Linked DNA regions of Homo sapiens: all the other regions are linked to region 1. Evidence: promoter capture Hi-C in 16 types of primary human blood cells and fetal thymus (Javierre and others, 2016). All regions are on one chromosome and are shown on one strand. Each heading gives the region's core, a stretch centred on a gene start or on the middle of the fragment in contact. The rest is flanking DNA. Distances are from core to core; before and after follow the strand shown. Region 1 holds the start of NEUROG2 (neurogenin 2). Region 2 has its middle 11 kb from the start of PITX2. Region 3 holds the start of PANCR (PITX2 adjacent non-coding RNA).

What was found. The method cuts DNA at HindIII sites, captures the fragments that hold promoters and counts their contacts. A CHiCAGO score of 5 or more calls a contact.
Region 2: a contact is called between a fragment that was not itself captured here and the fragment with the promoter of NEUROG2 in region 1, in 1 of 17 cell types (total B cells). The highest score is 16.6, in total B cells.
Region 3: a contact is called between a fragment that was not itself captured here and the fragment with the promoter of NEUROG2 in region 1, in 3 of 17 cell types (total B cells, endothelial precursors and naive B cells). The highest score is 12.6, in total B cells.

The regions. Positions count from the first base shown.
Region 1 is chr4:112,514,831-112,517,530 of GRCh38, reverse strand. NEUROG2 (neurogenin 2) reads left to right here and starts at 1,351. Exons shown (of 2, transcript NM_024019.4): 1 at 1,351-1,684; 2 at 2,055-2,700. The coding sequence starts at 2,056. NEUROG2-AS1 (NEUROG2 and ZGRF1 antisense RNA 1) reads right to left here and starts at 2,152. Exons shown (of 4, transcript NR_161159.1): 1 at 1,891-2,152. It overlaps LOC124900760 (a long non-coding RNA gene), which reads right to left and starts at 726. Exons shown (of 2, transcript XR_007058231.1): 1 at 492-726. RefSeq lists enhancers at 130-249, 350-449, 1-580 and silencers at 590-869, 2,190-2,259, 2,520-2,700. The HindIII fragment of the contact is 11,776 bases long and covers 1-2,700 here.
Region 2 is chr4:110,632,247-110,634,946 of GRCh38, reverse strand. It overlaps a transcript of PITX2 not described here. Among named protein-coding and RNA genes, the nearest start is that of PITX2, 11 kb to the right of the region's middle. RefSeq lists an enhancer at 2,118-2,630. The HindIII fragment of the contact is 9,925 bases long and covers 1-2,700 here.
Region 3 is chr4:110,613,499-110,616,198 of GRCh38, reverse strand. PANCR (PITX2 adjacent non-coding RNA) reads left to right here and starts at 741. Exons shown (of 2, transcript NR_147203.1): 1 at 741-892. LOC105377363 (a long non-coding RNA gene) reads right to left here. Exons shown (of 2, transcript XR_939071.3): 2 at 2,696-2,700. RefSeq lists an enhancer at 1-138. The HindIII fragment of the contact is 2,630 bases long and covers 1-2,623 here.

The DNA.
Region 1 (2,700 bases), core at 102-2,601:
GGAAAGTGGGGAGGGCTAACGAGCAATTGAGAACAAGTTTCCCCCGAGGTCCAGTAGCCCTTCAGCTCTTTTTTCTCATTGAAAAGCAGAATTGGGAAGATGGGCCCCTTGTCCCTACAACGCCCCCCAGCGCGGAGCAGAGGTCACAGAAATGTCAGCGCAGCGCATTTGCTTGCAGGAGCAGCAGCTCTGCCGCTCCTCCCGCTCGGTTCGCTGCCACCCACGCAGGAAGCCTCCTTGCTGTCCCTCCAGGCTATAAACTGGGTTAACCCCAGCAAAACCTGCATCAGTGCCCGGAGCCTCAGTTTCCTGTATGTAAAATGAGGGGGATCCTTTCAGCTCTAACATGTGAGTGATTTCATTCTCACATCCTCTAAAAGCTCATCAACTGCTCCCCTATCCGACCTCCCCTCCCAAGAGACGCCTGTTTGAATCCCCAGTGTCCTCTCCCTTCACTCTCCCACGCCAGTTTCGACGGACCCCAAACACACTTGTTCACGAGGTGTCCACATCTCTCCATCCACGCCATTCTCCTCCCCTAACCAAATGAATCCATTTTAAAATCGTTTACTATTTGATACAACCCCTAAGAGGCTTTGCCAAGAGACGCCCGGCAGCACCACAGGGCTAACTGCTTTCCCCGGGATTCTGACCCCCATTAACTAATTCCTAGTTCCCATCACCCGGGAGTTAGGAGGGCCGGCAGCGCCGGGTGCGGTGCCTGCGCGCGCGCCGGGCGGGGGGAGCCTCGGCGGCAGCGAGGACGAAGGCGGGGGCGGTAGCACGGGTCCCCCCATCCGCCCCCAGCGCTCGGGCCCCTAATGAGCTGCTGAAAGGGAGCGGGCTCCGGTGCGCGTGGCTCGCAGGCCTCCCGGAGTCCAGGGCGCCCTGATTGGCCAGCTGCGCCTCGCGACCTCCATTCATTAATAAATTAGCGGCACGCTCCAGCCGAGCGCGAGCCACCAATCACAATGGACAGCGGCGGCGACAACAGCCGCAGCTTGAGCCTCTGCGGCCGCTGCGGCTTCGCCAGCTCCGGCCGCAGCCCGGAGCTCCAACAGGAGCTTTAGAACCATTTTATGTTGATTAGATAAAGGGGGAAAAGAGAGGCGGGGGTGGTGGGAGGAGGAGGATGGATGGCAGGGCCAAGGGAGGGGGAAAGGCGGTGAAGAAAGAGGAAGAAATGAATGATGATAATGCAATGAAAAGAATAAGCCAGAGGAGGGAAAAGCGGGGGAGAAGGGGGGCAGGACTGACAGGAGGAGGAGGCGGTGGCGGGGGAGGAGGGGGCCCGGGGCAGATCTGATTGTTTTCTTGGTGGTATATAAGGGGTTTTAAGGAGAGTCGTGTGCCAGACACGCAGCCACTGAACCACAAGCAGCTTCGCGTTAACTGGAGTGCCTGGGAGTCGCGTGCCAGGAGCCGCACGGCCAGGGACTGACTGACAGACAGACACGCACCACCACCACAACACACGAGACCCGGGCGGGCCGCCGCCGCCGCCGCCGGGGCTCTTGGCAAACTCGCCGGTCGCAGAGGTCCCCCGCGGAGCTGCGCCACAGTAGCGCCGGGCTTGCAGCTTTCACGCCGGGCGAAGGACCCGGCGCTGCGCTCGCAGCTGCGCGGAGATTCCCGGCACAGGCCAAAGTCACAGCAACGCTGAGGCACAGTTAGAGCCAACTAAGTAAGTATTCGAGCCACCGCTTCCAACTACGCAGGTGGTTTCCCCGCACTCAGTCCAACCACACCCGCACGCCCTCTGCTCCGCGCAGAATCTTTGTCGCGGAGGCCGCAGTCCCTTCTCGGGGAGGGAACGCAGGACCGCCCGCGGAGGGCAGGACCCGGCTGACTGGCAGCAGGGTCACAGCGAGCGCTAGCGGCGCTCCTGACCTTGGTTAGCACTGCCTGGGTTTCTTCCTTCGCCTTCCTGCTCCGCGCCATTCGGAGCTGGTCTTCTCGGGTGCGCGCCGGAGCACGCCCCTGTGACACGAAGATCGCGCCTCTGTTTCTTTCCTTACACCTCACTGCCTTTTTCCCCTTTCTCTCTTCGGTAGGATGTTCGTCAAATCCGAGACCTTGGAGTTGAAGGAGGAAGAGGACGTGTTAGTGCTGCTCGGATCGGCCTCCCCCGCCTTGGCGGCCCTGACCCCGCTGTCATCCAGCGCCGACGAAGAAGAGGAGGAGGAGCCGGGCGCGTCAGGCGGGGCGCGTCGGCAGCGCGGGGCTGAGGCCGGGCAGGGGGCGCGGGGCGGCGTGGCTGCGGGTGCGGAGGGCTGCCGGCCCGCACGGCTGCTGGGTCTGGTACACGATTGCAAACGGCGCCCTTCCCGGGCGCGGGCCGTCTCCCGAGGCGCCAAGACGGCCGAGACGGTGCAGCGCATCAAGAAGACCCGTAGACTGAAGGCCAACAACCGCGAGCGAAACCGCATGCACAACCTCAACGCGGCACTGGACGCGCTGCGCGAGGTGCTCCCCACGTTCCCCGAGGACGCCAAGCTCACCAAGATCGAGACCCTGCGCTTCGCCCACAACTACATCTGGGCACTCACCGAGACCCTGCGCCTGGCGGATCACTGCGGGGGCGGCGGCGGGGGCCTGCCGGGGGCGCTCTTCTCCGAGGCAGTGTTGCTGAGCCCGGGAGGAGCCAGCGCCGCCCTGAGCAGCAGCGGAGACAGCCCCTCGCCCGCCTCCACGTGGAGT
Region 2 (2,700 bases), core at 6-2,505, 1.9 Mb after region 1:
GAAGCATAAAAATGCAAGTCTCAAGGCTCATTTTGACTGCAAAATAAATCTCCAAGTCACAAGGACATGTAGGAGTGAGCTAAGGAACACGCCTTGACCTTCTTTTCAGTCCTTAGAGTGGAGCTCTATGAGTTCTTGAAGATTTGTTTTGTATTGCTTTGTTTGGTCTTCAGCACTGAAGCACGGGGAAGTGGGGGGAAGAATGTGTAATAATTGACTGACTTTACACCAAGCAACGCAATCTTTTTCTTTTGTATATTTCATTCTTTAAAAAAAATAAATAAATAAAAACTATTTGCAGTTACCATCTGCAGTGCTCCGGCTACCAGCTAATAATGCAGCCAGTTCAGACATATAAAAAAAAAAGATTATCGAAATGATGATGACATGCAAATTTCCTCCGAAATTATCATAAGTAAACATTTGAAGTCTGGACTAATAAAATCCCATCTGTGTTACTTCATATCGAGTTAGTAGAAAGCTGTGATAATGAATTTTGTAATATCTCACGAACAGACATCTCAATCAGGGACTAATCCTGTGATTTTACTGCAGAATCACTAAATCTGGAGCCGCCAAACTGCTACTTCTGGGCCCACGGGCCCACAAGGATCGAATCGGCAGAGTCCCCGCCCGCGTTCTCGCTAGCGGGTGGGGGAACCGCCTGGCCGTCCCCACCCTGGATCCCCACGCCACAGCGCCGGGCAGCCCCTCCTGTAGGCAGCGACCTTGGCCAGAGGCTCCCCAGGGCCCAGCTCCCTTCAGGAGAGGCCGAGACGCAGGGAAACGGTACTCAGGCCAGAGGCAGGCCCGCAGCTCCCTGCCCCGCCTCTGTGCCTCCGCCAACCCGACAACGCTTGCTCCCACCCCGATCCCCGCACCCGCGCGAAGTGGGCCCTCCGGTCGTCGGCGTACCCTGGTTAGCGTGGAGAGAGGCAGGCGCTGAGATCGAAGGGGCCTAGGGAGCCCTGGACCTTCTTTTCTTGTCTTTAAAGCAACCGCGGCTCTTCTACCCACCCGGTGGAGCCCCTCGAGACCCACCTCTCCCGGCTTGCCTGTGGCAGAGAAGGGGGAGCGCGTTAAATGCTTGGCTCGCTGCGTTGTGGTTGAAAACGTGAAAAAGATTTGGCTCGCCCGGGAGAGAAAGGGGGAGAACTGGGTAGCAGTTATACCAGAGCTATTTCTCCGTCCTTGGCGGGCAGTAAACCCTCCAAGAACGTTTGCCCTGCTCTCCTCAGTCTCGCTCAGTCCACCCAGTGTCTCTCCTCTGCGATCTTAAATCATACTTTAGGGTAATTATTTGTAGTAAGTAAATAAATGGCCGGGTTAGTATCTCTAGGAGAAAGTGTGGCTAAATATGGAAAAGTGGCTCCTGATGGATGAGAGGCCCGAACTCAGCTCGCTCCTGAAACACCCTAGGCCAAGAGCCCGTTCGTTTCAGAATTACAGAAAACCGAGGGAAACTGCTGTCTAGGACAGGGGCACGTTGGCGCTGATGTTCTACAAATGTTTACCGAGCTCCAACTAATGGACAAGCACTGAAGGGTGGTCTTTGCATACAGCTTCCCAAAGAGAAAAGTCCTCTCCACCCACCCACTCCCGCTGCCATTGCGTTCAGATGAGTTCTTAACCCCGGCACCGAGATTCTTGAAAGTAGGTCCACAGCCTCCCCAGCACACTGTGGCTTTATAGTCCTCTAACCTCTGGGCACTTTTGCGGCAACTCTGGAGGGAGATCCCCTCTTGATAAATAAATGTCCTGGGCCCGAGGCTAGGCTGGAGATGCTGCTGCACAGCCAGAGGCTGTCAGGTCGGAAAAACACGCCTGAAGCCTAGCACACAGTAGGCGCCTAACAGCTAGTGTAACGTAGTCTCATCTGAGCCCTGCTCACTCGACGGCCGCCGCTTCTTACAGCCTTCCTTCTCTTCTGTTTTGCAGATAACGGGGAATGGAGACCAACTGCCGCAAACTGGTGTCGGCGTGTGTGCAATTAGGTAAGAACCCCCTTCTCCTGCCCGGGTCATCGGACGGGAGGCCGCGCCACGTGAGGGCGGCAAGAGGGCACTGGCCCTGCGGCGAGGCCCCAGCGAGGGGCGCTTCCCCGAGGGGCCAGCCTGGGCAGGAAGGAAATCAGAACCAAATCGCCAGTGGCCTCTCCCTGTGGCGGGGCGGTGGACTAGGAAGCAGCGGCGCGCTGTGTACCGAAGCCCCCCAGCCTACTCCTCCCGGCTGGAACCGCCGGCAACCGGGGAGGCGCAGAAAGAGTACGCCATCCTGCCCCGGGTTGCCAGAGGGTCCGGGGGACGGGGATGCCGTCAGCTCTTTCCTCTAACTGGGTCTTTGCTCTTTGTCCCTCTTTCTCCTCCGGCCTGCCTCGCCCCTCCCCCTCCTCCCGTCCCCGGCTCCTTTCGGCCGCGGTCCGGGACGCCTCTCTCCGCACGTGGGGCGGGCGCGCGCGTGGCCCAGGCGTGCAGCCGGCGGCCGTTGAATGTCTCTTCTCCAAAGACTCCGAAATCAAAAAGGTCGAGTTCACGGACTCTCCTGAGAGCCGAAAAGAGGCAGCCAGCAGCAAGTTCTTCCCGCGGCAGCATCCTGGCGCCAATGGTAAGGCCGGGAGGGAAGCGCAGGCCGCGCGCTGGGCACCCGCCTCCGGGACTCTGGGCCTCGGGCGAAGCGCAAGAAGGCGAGGCCGCCAGACCT
Region 3 (2,700 bases), core at 59-2,558, 1.9 Mb after region 1:
CTCGAACACTGAGTCTTTGTTCTGCAAGAAACTGCTGCTGCCACTTAAAGAGATCGCAGATAATGTCCCCGATTTAAGATCAGTGCTCAACGCACACTTTCTTTCTTTTTAAAGCTCTGCCTCCGACTTGCGGAGGGATCACGCAGCAGTGGGGGGCAGATAAAAGCCCTTTGGACGAGGGTCACCTCCCACCATGTTGTTCACTTGAGAGCAGTGGAGAGGAAAACGGTCCCCACGGGCGGACTTTGGCTTCTGGAGCCGCAGGGCCCAGCGGTCCCGGCCTCTCCGCCTCTCAGCCTGGTAGGGGGCGGGGAGGGCCAAAGGGCGGAGGGGAAGGAAGGAGCTAGAAGAGGGGATTTGGGGATGGGGGCTGGAAGCGCTAACGAGACCTGCCCGGAGGATTTAGGTCTCCTGCAGGTTGGTGAGTGATTTGGGAGCTCTGGGTAAAAGAGGTGTACCTCGGCCTAGTTTGGTTGCTGAACTAGAACAACGCGAGGACATCAATCAATCTGCAGGAAACAAAAAATGGAAGTCGAGGTTTAGGAAGAGTTGTCACTTCCCCGACTTGAGTGGTGCAGGCTGGGGGCGGAGACTTGGGACCTAAGAGAGGCCATTTCTCTCACCTCAGCTCCCTTCCCTTGGACTTCCAAAAGGAATAATTTTACTCTCTCCTCCGTTCTCCCCACAACTCTCATCCCCGCTAGCCCGCAGGCCGCCTGCCCCTTTCCGCACCTCCTTTTCCCATCCAGCGAGAGAAACCTAGCTCCCAGAGCCGGTGCAGTCAGTCCCCTCGCCCCTCCCGCCCCTGCACGGGTCCCCCTCTAGCCGTCGCTGCAACCACCACCTCGGTTCCACTCAACCGATTTTTGCTGCATGTCAACACTTATTACCGGTGAGTGTGAGGGTATTTTTTCTCCTTCTCTAGGTCTCTTAATGATTTCTGAGCTAGTTGTGTATTAAAGTGCTTAAAGGAACCTTTAACATAATCTATAGCATGAGCACCAACCTTCCCCGCTTGGGTTCAAAAATGGCGAGCTCGAGGTTGGGCCCGGAGGCGCCCAGGCCTCACTGGCCTCAGCGCACTGCCGCCGTGCTCCTTGAGCGCTCAGAGGTTCGCCAGGCCTGGGGCAGGAACCCCGCGCAGACGATCCGCCGTCTGGGGGCTTTCTCCCCGCCACCCCCTTCCATCCCTCACCTGTTACTAGCAGGCACCTTTTCTTCTCTCGGTATCTTTGGCCTATCCTCGGGTTTTGTTTTATTAAAAAAAAAAAAAAAAAGTAAACCTCTTTAAAAATTTCCAAGGCCCCAAAGTCTTCATTCCGCTAATACCGATTTCAGATTAGTGGAGACCTGGGAAAAGGTGTATACAGCCCATGATTGTCTCTCCTTCCTCCCAATTCCTAAATCTGAGTTTTAGTGTTTACGACTTGGTTAGAAATTTAATTTTTAAAAACATGTTGGAGAGCCTGGGCCGAGTAAGTAGTTTGATTAGAAGGCAAATTCTCTTCGCCTCCTTGCCCTGCTTTTTCCCTCACCCCCACCCCCTTTCTATTAGATGCTGAAGCCGGGGGGTGTAGGGGTGGGGGTTAGGAGTGTAACAAAAAAATTAATGGGACAATATAAACAGCGTCTTAAAAGTCCTAATATTCCTCGAAAGCCGTATAAATTAACCCTGTGAAGAGTGAGCCCTTTTAAGGCGAGTCTATAAAAATCCAGCGTGATCTCGAAGGAGGACGACCCTTCCCCCAATCCCTGTCGCGAATGTGACCAAACAAAGGTCTGTCCTGCAATCCACATCCTAATCCACGGATGCCCCCGCCGCCGTCGCCGGGACTCCCCAGCCTCCAGCCGCCCTTAGTGGACGGAGCTACCCTGGGAGTCCCTGGCTCCGCGACTTAACTTTTTTAGAGAGGGGGAAAAAAGGAGGGGGTGTAATTAGATCAGAGGCCTTTATGAATATAGACTCCCTATTGATTGATTTATAAACCCCCTGAGGAACTGCAGTTAATCTAAGCACACCGGGAAGCAAGAAACGTGGTTGACTGAAGAAGTCTGGAAGTAAACGAGAGGAATTTCTGGTAGCAGATTTTCAGAAGGAATTTTTTTAAAAATAGCTTTTCTTCCCCAGGTTCCCAAACATTTCATTAACTGAACTTGAGAAAATGGTAATTCGAGTTTTTTTTTTTAAGGGGGTTAAGTAGAAACACCATTGTAAACACGTAACTGATTTACCTTTTCAGGTTCTAGCAGATGAACCCAGGGAAATTTTACTCTAATCTTAAAAATTTATCACACTTGGCCCCTCCCACCCTTCCCTGCCCCCTCCCCAAAGGGAGGACTTCCCATTGTTGACTGTCTATCTGAAAAGATAGAAAGCAGAATTTACTGTGTTTGGGATGCATAACTTCATTCACTTCTGTGCTGAGTATTTTATGCATTTTTAAAATGTAAATGTTGATTTTAGATTTTTTTGAAGAGTAGAGAATCCTGCAAGAAATGAAATACCCCCTGAAGATATATTTAATTATACTTAATTACCTTTAAAAGTCATTTCTACTCCTTTTGTAACAATACATTTCTACAGTTCAGTGGTAGTTGTGGAAAACAGGAGCTATTTGAAGCTTAAGTTACTCTGCAGAAGAATGGCTATAAGAGCCATCTAAATTCCTTACAATTAAAAAAATTCAAAAACATGTAATG